Linked DNA regions of Homo sapiens: region 1 is linked to region 2. Evidence: promoter capture Hi-C in human tissues and cell types (Jung and others, 2019). All regions are on one chromosome and are shown on one strand. The core of a region is centred on a gene start or on the middle of the fragment in contact, and the rest is flanking DNA. Distances in the headings are between cores, read along the strand shown. Region 1 overlaps MSANTD3-TMEFF1 (MSANTD3-TMEFF1 readthrough). Region 2 holds the start of MSANTD3 (Myb/SANT DNA binding domain containing 3).

The links. The method cuts DNA at HindIII sites, captures the fragments that hold promoters and counts their contacts. A contact is called where the count stands out against the background at its distance.
Region 1: a contact is called between a fragment that was not itself captured here and the fragment with the promoter of MSANTD3 in region 2, in 1 of the 25 tissues and cell types used here (pancreas).

The regions. Positions count from the first base shown.
Region 1 is chr9:100,570,194-100,576,073 of GRCh38, forward strand. It overlaps MSANTD3-TMEFF1 (MSANTD3-TMEFF1 readthrough), which reads left to right. Exons shown (of 10, transcript NM_001198812.1): 9 at 2,325-2,483. It overlaps TMEFF1 (transmembrane protein with EGF like and two follistatin like domains 1), which reads left to right. Exons shown (of 10, transcript NM_003692.5): 9 at 2,325-2,483. Among named protein-coding and RNA genes, the nearest start is that of CAVIN4, 4.9 kb to the right of the region's middle. The HindIII fragment of the contact is 5,125 bases long and covers 357-5,481 here.
Region 2 is chr9:100,424,752-100,430,089 of GRCh38, forward strand. It overlaps MSANTD3 (Myb/SANT DNA binding domain containing 3), which reads left to right and starts at 2,392. Exons shown (of 3, transcript NM_080655.3): 1 at 2,392-2,642. RefSeq lists silencers at 2,229-2,458, 2,499-2,728, 2,769-2,888. The HindIII fragment of the contact is 14,283 bases long and covers 1-5,338 here.

The sequences.
Region 1 (5,880 bases), core at 1,669-4,168, 150 kb after region 2:
GATTAAATCCATATCTTAGCTATTGTGAATAATGCTGCAATAAACGTGGTAGTGCAGATATTTCTTCAATATACTGATTTTATTTCCTATAGTTATATACCCAGTAATGAGATTGCTGGATCATATGGTAGTTTTATTTTTAATTTTTTGAGGAACTTCCATACGGTTTTCCATAATAACTGTATCTTATGTTTTTTTTCTTCAGAGTTTTATAGTTTTAGCTCTTACGTTTAGATCTGCGATCCATTTTGAGGCAATTTTTGTGTATGACACGAGGAAGAGGTCTAGCTTCATCCTTTTGTGTGTGGATATCCAGTTAGCACCATTTGTTGAAGAAACAGTTCTTTCCCCATTGAGTTATCTTAGCACCCTTGTCAAAACCAATTGACCATAGATGTATGGGTTTATTTCTAGGCTCTCCATTCTCTTCCATGATCCACATACCTGCCCACTGCTTGTTTTTTTTTGTTTGCTGGAAAGCGTAGAGCCCAATGTGAAATGTACTGGGAAGTGTCTAGGAACCTCAGGGACTGGATTGGTAGACTTGCAGCACCCCTGGATTTCCCTGTTTCCCTCCTCCCACATTTCTTTTTTGTTGTTTTAATGTGTGCTTTGCGATAAGCTGCCTCAAATTCTTTTCTTAATGAGTTGTGGGACATTCATAAATACTGTTTTTATACTTCAAATGTTTTATTAATCAGTTCTCACTGAAGGCTGGCTAATTTATACATTTCACTGCTGTCAGCTTAAAAATGTAAATTGTCTGTTAAGTGTCTTAAATATTTCTCCCTGTCAAATTATCATCAGCTGATGCAGTTGTCTTTTTATCTACTTTTAATTGGAATTCAGATAATTTCCAAGATTAGCACCTACAGCTTACCTCCTTGACTGCTTGACATTGTTTCTGTTATTAATAACTTATTTTCATCTTCCCCTTGCATCTTACATGTTTATATTTTATACACTGAAAAGTGTCTTGAATATAATTTGGTGCTATGTTCAGAGGACTGTAAATGTTTATACCTATTTTTTCAATAGTCTTAATTTTCAGGTACTTAGCCCTAAGGAATAACACTAAATATAGAAAAGCGCATATTCACCAAGATGTTTACCACATCTAATTTATAATTGTGAAAAATTGAAAATAACTGACATGTCTTAGAACTGGGAATAGATAATGCTAGCTATATTATAGTCACTGGATGGAGTATTATATTTCTGTTTTGAAATTATATGTATCTATTTTGAAAAAAATGCTAAGAGAGTAGATTTTAAGTGTTCTCACCACAGACATGATAACTATATGAGGTAATGCATATGTTAATTAGCTTGATTTAGCCATTCCACAATGTCTATACATTTCCAAATATCATGTTGTACATCAGTGGTCCCCAACCTTTTTGTTGCCAGGGACTAGTTCCGTACAAGACAGTTTTTCCATGGACTGGGGATTGGGGGTGGGGGTGATGGTTTGGGGATGATTCAAGTGCATTACATTTATTGTGCACTTTATTTCTATTATTATTACATGGTAATACTTAATGAAATAATTATACAACTCACCATAATGTAGAATTGGTGGGAGCTCTGAGCTTGTTTTTCCTGCAATTAGACAGTCCCATCTGGGGGTGATGGGGGACGGTGACAGATCCTTAGGCATTAGATTCACATAAGGAGCACTCAACCTAGATCCCTTGTGTGCGCAGCTCACAATAGGGTTTGCGCTCCTATGAGAATCTAATGCCAGTGCTGATCTGACAGGAGGCGGAGCTTGGGTGGTAATGTGAGTGATGGGGAGTAGCTGTAAATACAAAGAAGCTTTGCTTACTTGCCCACCACTCACCTCCTGCTGTGTGGCCTGGTTCCTAACAGGCCATGGACCAATATCTGTCCATGGCCCGGGAGTTGGGGGGGATCCCTGTTGTACATGATAAATATACGTAATTTTATTTGTCAATTTTTAAGCAAATTTAATTTAAAAAGTGAAAAAAAGGAGTAAATCTTTGTGGCTTTAGATTAGGCAATAATTTCTTAGATATGACACCAAAAGCAAAAGCAACAATAACAAAAAAAGATATACATTAACAATATTCAGCAACTTTAAAATTAATGTGATATAACTTAGGTGAAAGACGCACCATGTAGGCATATCAGAAAGACAGTAGGGAAACATACAAATGACATTTTTCCCCCAGATGGTAGGAAAGTGCATGATATCCTATTCCTGTTTAAATTTTATTACTATTTTGTATTTTTTAATGTAAAAGCTTGGGAGTATCAAAATTTGTAATTTTCATAGGAATATATATATTTTTCCTTTTCAGATGTGAATCTGGCTACACTGGACAGCACTGTGAAAAGACAGACTTTAGTATTCTCTATGTAGTGCCAAGTAGGCAAAAGCTCACTCATGTTCTTATTGCAGCAATTATTGGAGCTGTACAGATTGCCATCATAGTAGCAATTGTAATGTGCATAACAAGGTAGGTAATGATGTAAGAAATATCAACTTTAAATTAGAGGCAGGCAACTGTTTATTTATAGATGCTTTGAGGCCACCAGTCTATTAGGAAAAATCTTATGATCAGTTCCCTGAGGTTTTCAGTGGTCTCTCCCTATCCTTCTTCTTTAGGATACGGGCAGGGACTAATTCCCAGTCTTACAGGTATATCTGGGCGACAAGCAGAGAGGGAATGAGAATAGTCAATGAGATAAAGGAATTTAGGGATCTGAGAACTGTATACAGTCTTTGAACACTGTATTCTGGGAAAATAATGTTAGTAGCAATCTTTTTTTTTTTTTTTTAAGAGACAGGGCCTCACTCTGTTGCCCAGGCTGGAGTGCAGTAGCAATTAGAGCTCATTGCAGCCTCAAATTCCTGGGCTCAAGTGGTCCTCCAGAGTAGCTGAGACTATAGGCGTGAACCACCCTGACTGGCTCAGAATTTCTAGAATGATCTGCACATGCATAGGAGATCCATGCAGAAGATTTTTAAGCCCTGCACAACTGCAAGGGGTTCTGTGCCCTAAGAACGTACTTTACTCACAGTTAGTATAGTAAGAAAGGAAGAAATCAGAGGCTGAAGATAGTTTTATTGTGATATCATGGTGTTAACATTACTTCATTTTCAGGATTGCAGCGATAAGTAATAAGCTTTAAAATTCTGTATTATAAATAAAATTATTCGTCATAAATTAAATGACTTATTTGGAGTGCAGTGGCATAAAATGGGTCTTTTCTAAACTGAGTAGAAATACATAAGTCAGACTGAACTGGGCCTGAGAAAAGTCAGAGTAAATCCAGCAAGTTCGTGTTGTCTTTGTGCTTCCCAGTCTAATGCTTTTCTTCCTGCTTACCTCTTTCTTTAAGCTTCAGTTCAGAAGTCTCATAAGCATCATTTCTCCACTTCCCTGCATTATTCTGGGCAGAGGGTTGAAGCATATCAAATACAGATATTGGCAGGCCATAATGGATTTGTGGCCCTTCTATCCAAGGTCTGGATAGAAGCCAGACCTTCAGTAGTCTCAGCCATCTGGAGCTGAGATGATAAATCTAGAAATGATAAAAAAGAAAAGGTTCTCCAAGTAACAGATATTTTTCATAACACCTAGGCATGAAAGTCAGTGCGCTTTATTTCACAGAACAGATGATCTGCCCTTAGGCAAGACTACTGAATATAAAATTGGACGGTAGATCAAAGTAGGGACATAATCATGTAACAAATAATGATAACAGAAAGAGAAGATAGGGAAAACACATTTAACAGCATGACTGGCTGTAGCCATTTAATATAGACTCAGAGGTTAAGTAATTTGTCTGTGGTCATCCGACTAGTAAGTGGAATTGTCTGGATTTGGATTCAGTTTGATTCCCATTCATTCTTTACACTGAAAGGTTCCATGTTGAGTCATCTTGGGAAACATGTTTGCCCAGTATGACCATTGCATGGGAGCAGGGTTCAAACTTGATTTTGTAGCAGTTTAGGGTTTTTGAGCAGGGGAAGGACTTGGTATAAACCATATTTTTCAGAGTATTAATGAGTCATCTGAAAAATTCATTGGAGTAGTGAACATATGAGGTAGGGGGAAGACCATTTAAGTCATTATTAGAGTTAAATAGGAGTGAGGTAATGAATGATTTGGAAGGCAGAAGGAAAATTAAGGTAAAGTAAGGGGAGATGTTTGAGGCCTGGAGATAGTGCCTTTATTTGAGACAGGGTCTCACTCTGTCATTCAGGCTGGAGTGCAGTGGCATGATCTTGGATCATTGCAACCTCCACCTCCTGGGCTTATCTCAACCTCCCGAGTAGCTGAGACTACAGGCATGCGCCACCATGCCTTGCTAATTTTTGTATTTTTTTTTTTGTAGAGACTGGGTTTGGCCATGTTGCCGAGGCTGGTCTTCAACTCCTAGGCTCAAGTGATCCACCTGCCTCGGTCTCGCAAAGTGCTGGGATTGTGCCCAGCCAGATAGTGCCATTTTTAAGAGGATCAAAGGATGTCAGAGTCAATGAGAAACAATTCTGAGTTCAACCCCTTCATTTAGAGAAGTTGGGAAACTGAAGCCCTGAGATAAGAAGTACCTTGGTCTAAGGTCCTAGAGCTAGGAAAGCCCCCTTACAACAGTCTTTTACCCAACTCTTTCAGTGCTATAATGCTCAACTACTCAATTAAAATTACCTGGCAGGCAGTTTTGAAGTAGGTACCCTCTAGTTTATACTCCAGATCCCTCCTTGTTGCCCTCACAGCCACTTAGACATCACAGTGTATTTCTAACTATGTCACAGTGTCTTTACTGCCCACTGTCTCTACGATTGAAGAGTCATCTCATTGAATTTATCACAGATTTCTCCTGGAGGCCTGTCTTTTTATTATGGTATTTCCTCCCCTAGAATGTCTTGCTATCTTGGATTTAGAACATTTATGTACTTGGATTTATTTCCATTGAGTTTTTAAGTATCTCTCCCACACAGTCCATTATGAGACAGCTGTTGACATATACCGTGGCGGCTGTCACATGGGAGGAATCTTCTTTAAAAGGATGTTCCCACTGACCTGTTTATCAAGACTGCATGAGTCAATTTTTCTTTTTTTCTTCTTCTTGGAATCGCCTTTCATATTTTCAGACTCATAGAATGACAGATTGTCAGGAACCTTGAACATCACCTTAACTAAACGCCCTGATTTTATGGATTTAAAAACCATGGCACTAGGAAATTGGAATTTTTCCAAGGTCATGGTGAGTTAGTGACAGTACAAGAGGGTTGCTTGATCTGTCAGCTAGTTTTCTCATTTATGAAATGGAGATGATTCCAACTCTGTCTACCTCACACTTTTAAAATGAGGATTAGTGAGGTAAAACCATATACAAAATGGAAGTATTGTCAACACTTTTAGTCAAGGCAAAGCTGTACTCTTTGAAATCGAACGAAATGAGGAGTACTCATTGTTATAAGACTTTCTTTCCATTAGGTTGTAAATTTCTTGCTGGCAGAGATTTTGGAAGCTAGTCCAACTCCTAATTTATTTTTTACATATAGGAGAATTGAGGTTGCACAGTTAGTTATTAGCAGAGCCCAGAATTCGTCTTAGCCCCCTTACTCCACATTGCATAGCACAGCATCTTGTGTTTGCAATCTAGTGTGCAGGCACAAGAGCAGTTCCAACCCAGTGAGATTTGTACTGCTGTTGAGAAACGTGGTAAAATGAGAGCAGAGTTAAAGAATGTCCCTTATCCTCAGTGTGGCAGTTCCTTATGGGCTTCTGTGGTTTGCCCCAGGAGGGTGTGGACAGCTTCTTTTGAGTCATTGTCTAAAATCAGTAGACATTCCTATGTATTCATAGCTGAGGTTAATAAGCACACTTCTTCCTGATTTCTCCC
Region 2 (5,338 bases), core at 1,142-3,641:
GGCGGGCGGATCACGAGGTCAGGAGATCGAGACCATACTGGCTAACATGGTGAAACCCCGTCTCTACTAAAAATACAAAAAAAATTAGCCAGGCGTGGTGGCAGGCGCCTGTAGTCCCAGCTACTCGGGAGGCTGAGGCAGGAGAATGGCGTGAACCCGGGAGGTGGAGCTTGCAGTGAGCCGAGATTGCGCCACCACTGCACTCCAGCCTGGGTGACAAAGCGAGACTCCGTCTCAAAAAAAAAAAAAAAAATGAAATGAGAAAACTGAGATTCAGGAGCTTAACTTAGTTCACGTTTATCTAGTGCTTTTTCCACACTGTATCACTTTATCAATCAAATTTCCAATCTGAATTGACCTTCCAATGTCACACCCCAATAGTTTTCCCTTGACCGTATCTGCATGTAAGAAGGGAATCTTCATGGACTTATAATATGGCACTAAGTGGAAAACAAGTGTAAATGATGTACAGCCTTGGCTTTCGGTGTGGTATCATAGCTTGTTTGCTAGCACATTGTAGCAACTCCCCTGGTATAATTTTAGTTTCCAGGCTCTCTGGACAATTTCAAGGCCTCCTGGACATCAGACAAATTATTGTTAAAATAATGAATGAGATGCCTGTAATCCCAGCACTTTGGGAGACTGAGGTGGGCAGATCACTTGAGGTCAGGAGTTCGAGACCAGCCTGGCCAACATGGCGAAATCCTGTCTCTACTAAAATTACAAAAATTATCCAGGAGTGGTGGCACATGCCTATAGTCCCAGCTACTTGGGAGGCTGAGGCAGGAGAATTGCTTGAACCCGGGAAGCGGAGGTTGCAGTGAGCCAAGATTGCACCATTGCACTCCAGCAGACTCTGTCTCAAAAAAAAAAAAAAAAAAAGAAAAGAAAAAGAATGAGGACCAGTATAGCTCTTAGTTTAGGGTCTTTATTTTTATTGGTGCTTCTGCCCTGGATTGTTTTTTGAGGGAAGAAAGAAAGGGTTGCGTGATTCTTTGTACATAGTGAAAACCTAGATCAGTTTTTACTTTAGGGCTATGGATAGTGGGAGTTGGGAGGGCAAGCAATAGTCTCAAAAATGTTCAAGGAATTAAAACACAAAAACGGAAAATTGCAAGTGTTGACAAGGTTGTGGAAACTTGGAACCCTCAAACATTGGTGATGGGAATGTAAAATGATTCATTCAGCTGCTGTGGAAAACTTTTTGGCAGTTCCTGGAAAAGTTAAACATAGAATTACCCTATGACCCAGAAAGTCCACTCCTAGGTATGTATCCAAAAGAACTGGGAACAGGTACTCAAATATGTGTACAGGCATGTTCAGAGCAGCACTATTCACAATAGCCAAAAGGTGGAAGTAACCCAAATATCTATCAAGGGATGAATGAATAAACAAATTATAATATACACATACAATGGGATATTAATCAGCCATAAAAAGGAATGAAGTACTGATCCACGCCTCAACATGGATGAATCTTAAATACAGGCTAAGTCAAAGAAACGACACAAAAGGCCGCATATTGTATGGTTGCATTTATATGAAATACCCAGAAAAAAGTAAACTCACAGAGATAGAAAATAGCTGAGTCGTTGCCAGGGTCTGGAGGAAGGAGGGACTGGGGAATTACTGCTTAATGGAGTATGGATGTTTCAGAACTAGATAGAAGTGGTTGCTCAACATTATGAATGTAATAAATGCCACCAAATCGTTCGCTTTTAAGTGGTTTATGTTATGCGAATTTCACCTCAAAAAAAAAAAAAGTTAAAAAGCCTTCTCTGCCTTTCTCTGGGGTTGGAGTCTTCCCAATGGATCCAGGGCAAAAGAAACATCCAGCCACTCTGTTTGCGGGAGGAGCAAAGGGTGGCTTGTCCCGACAGTTTGAGCTGTTGTGCATGCATTTACACACGCATTAATTCCAAATGAGTCAGCACAGTGTCCGAGACAGGTCCTGGGCTCCAGTGAGCACAGTCGCTCTCCTGGGGGAGGCACGTTCCACAAATTAACAGAAGTTCTGATAAACTCAGCATAGGGGGATTCGCTGTCCCAAGTATCAAGGAGTCCTAAAAGAAAAGGGCCTATTTCAGTCGGGGGACCTGGACTGAACTAACTCGTGTTCATGGCCGCCAAATCCCGTGTGACAAATGTATTCTTTTGTTGTTCATAGAAATAAAACAGTTTTTCGGGCCGCTTCAGGAGCTCCTCTGCAAAGGTGGGGAAAAAAGGCAACTAAATCAGCACGAGGACGTCAGCCCGAGGATGTCAGGAGCGGGGTCGGTGCGGACGGGCAGGTGGGCGGGGGGGCACCCCGCGCCCCGCCCCAGTCCCCTGGAGGCCGGCGGCCGCAGCTCGGGGAAGTGGGGACTGGCGCGGGGCCGCGCTCCCGCCCTCCTCGGCGGCGCCGACGGACCGGCAGGCGGCGGGCGGTCCGCGAGGGGGCGGCGGCGTCCGGGCTTTGTGGCCGCGGCGCGCGCGGCGGGGCCTGGCCGGCCGGGGGCGCGCCGCCGCCGCCGCCGCCGCCCGGCGTTCGGGAGCCCGCGGCCCTCCCGGCCGCCCTGCTTGCGAGAGGAGCCCAGGCCGCCCGCCCTCGCGCCTCGCCGGCCCCTCCCCCGGTCGCCGCGGCTGCCGCGCCGCCGCTGCAGGTAGGAGGCTCCCCTTCCGGGCGGGCCGCAGCCGGGCGGGGGCGGGGGTGGGGGGCGCGGGCCGGGCGTAGAGGGGGCCGGGGGCCGGCATGGAGGGTTTTCGGGCCGAGCCGCTGCGACCCCGGCCTTGCAGGCTGGGCGCCGGGCGGCCGCCTCTGCGCGCCGCGATGGGACTCGGTGAGTAGGGCCGGCCTGCTGCCTACAAAGCCCCGGGGCGCGGGCCTCTGGGGTACTCAGTGGCGCGCCCACGGCTGGGAGCGGGGTGGGCTTTGGACTCCCGGGCTCGGGGAGCTGCTCGGGGGGAATCCAGGTGACCTGCAGTACCGCGGTCTTCCCATCCCGGCGTCCCCACTGTGTGCTGATCACTGTGCTCGGCGCTTTTCCATACTTGTCTCCTTTAAGACCTCCAGTGCCCCGCCCGTCCAGAGTGTAACGGGAGGGATCCCTCACTTGCAGGATGAAGGCCGAGCATCACATCCTTGCTTGACTGACCTTGGGAAAGCTCCTTTACTCCGAGCCGGGGCTACTGTTTCTGTAAATTAGAGGCGGGGGTCGGGGGGGCGTGGTATAATATCTACCCTCAGGTACTATTGTGAAAGATAATGTATGTAAATGATAACAGCTAAATTTTGAGCACTCTGTATGTACCAGGCCCTAGGTACTAAACAGTTGGCATGAATTATCATTGAATCATCACCCTGGCGCTGTGAGGTAGTTACTGTAAATTGCATGAATAATCTTTATTTAGGAGTACGAAACAGTGAAGAATTTAGTCTCCCTATTCCGATTCAGGAGGTTGGGTATTTCTTAGGCGTGATAACATTTAACATTACAGACGTTCCTGCAGTATCGAGGAGAGTAGTTATAGGATGCAGGGATATATTTGTCATACATTTAAAACTGGAGGTAGGATAATATCAGGGCCAGAGAGTGTGCCTTTCAGCATGTCAGAGCAGATGATTGTATTCCAAGGAAATTGCTGAATATTAATTAAAAAACATAGTTTCTGAGTTAGGATTGAGGATGGCTGTGGGAGTCCAGGGCCAGAGAGAGACATGGGATGGACAAGGGGGAGAAGAAGGATTCTGAAGTCCTGGAGGAAGATGTAGAGGAAGGCACCAGGGTTCACCATCCCTCCCCTGCAGCATTGCTGGGCCAGATTTCATCCCTCCCGTAGAGACCCGGGCTAGGGGACAAAGGCTGCTGGGGCAGGGGGTGGGGAGGGATGTTATAGGTTGTCTCTTTTTACTCCCAGGCCGCCAAAAATATTCAGATTGATGGAGGGTCAGGTGATTGGGCCTCCTAAAATGCCATTATCCCTTCTCACAAAATTCTTGTGTTTCAGGGCATGGGGATGCTTGCCAGCCCTAATGGTTGATGAGATGCTTAAAATACAAAGGTCTCACTGATATAATGGAAGAGTGCATTTTCAACACCATTCACTGGGTTAGAGAAGTAATGGGCCTGAGGAGATTATTTTGGGTTTAGAATGGGGAGAACTAAAAAGGCTTTGGATCCTGAAGAAGGAAGAGAGGCAGGAAGGGCCCAGGCACTGCACCTGTGGGGAAAGGCAGGAGAAGAAGGAGCTGAGGACTTCACCCCACCATCTGCAGAATACCCAACAGGCTGTTCAGTTCTCAGCTACCAAGGGGGCACCCTTTCCTCTCCCAGTTGGTGATGATTTGTTAACGTATTGTGGAAGATCAAGGGCTGGACTCAGGCACTCCTGTCCTGAGTGAGTAGGAAAGACGTCTGGGAGAAGGGTGGTTTATTTTGTTTTTAACCAGGCATTGAAGCAGAGAGTAGGTGGGTACGTAGCGATGGTGAAGGTAGGGAACATCATGCATACTTGGAAGAGCAATTGCTTTGGAGAGATAGACAGTTTGGGGTTTGAATCCTAGCTCTGCCATTTCTTAGCTTTGTACATTTTTTGTGAGGATAAAATAATGTTTTTTCACATATCTGGCGTGCAGTTCAACAAGCACTAGTACCGTATTCCCTGTCCGTGATAACATTCATTCAACAAATGTCTGCTGAGCACCAGTCATGTGCTGAGTCATATGTTACATCCTGGGGATACAGCGATGAGTCAGAAATTATGTATTCCCCTAGGAATTTCCCAGTCCAGTGTGGGAGATGGACGCAAAGAGCAAATTGCAAAAAATATGGGAAGTGCTACAGTACAGTCATGTACAACTGTCAGTGAGCTCATAGAAGAGTAACTCATTCTGAGCCAGTGGGAACTCAGGGCCAATCTATATCTAACAAGGTGAGTATGAGACCTTATGACACAGGTTTTTGTTTTTTGTTTTTGTTTTTTTTTTGGGGGGGGACAGTCTCGCTCTGTTGCCCAGGCTGGAGTGCAGTGGCATGATCTCGGCTCACTGCAGTCTCCACCTCTTGGGTTCAAGCGATTCTCTTGTCTCAGCCTCCCAAGTAGCTGAGATTACAGGCACCTACCACCACGCCCAGCTAATTTTTGTAGTTTTAGTAGAGGTGGGGTTTCACCATGTTGGCCAGGCTGGTCTCAAACTCCTGACCTCAGGTGATCTGCCCACCTTGGCCTCCCAAGGTATTGGGATTATAGGCGTGAGCCACCGTGCCCAGCTATGACACAGGTTTTGAATGCTCCTTTACCACCTAACTTTGATCTCTTTTACCTTTGTCTTATCTTTGCCCTGCTAGTCTCTCCTCTC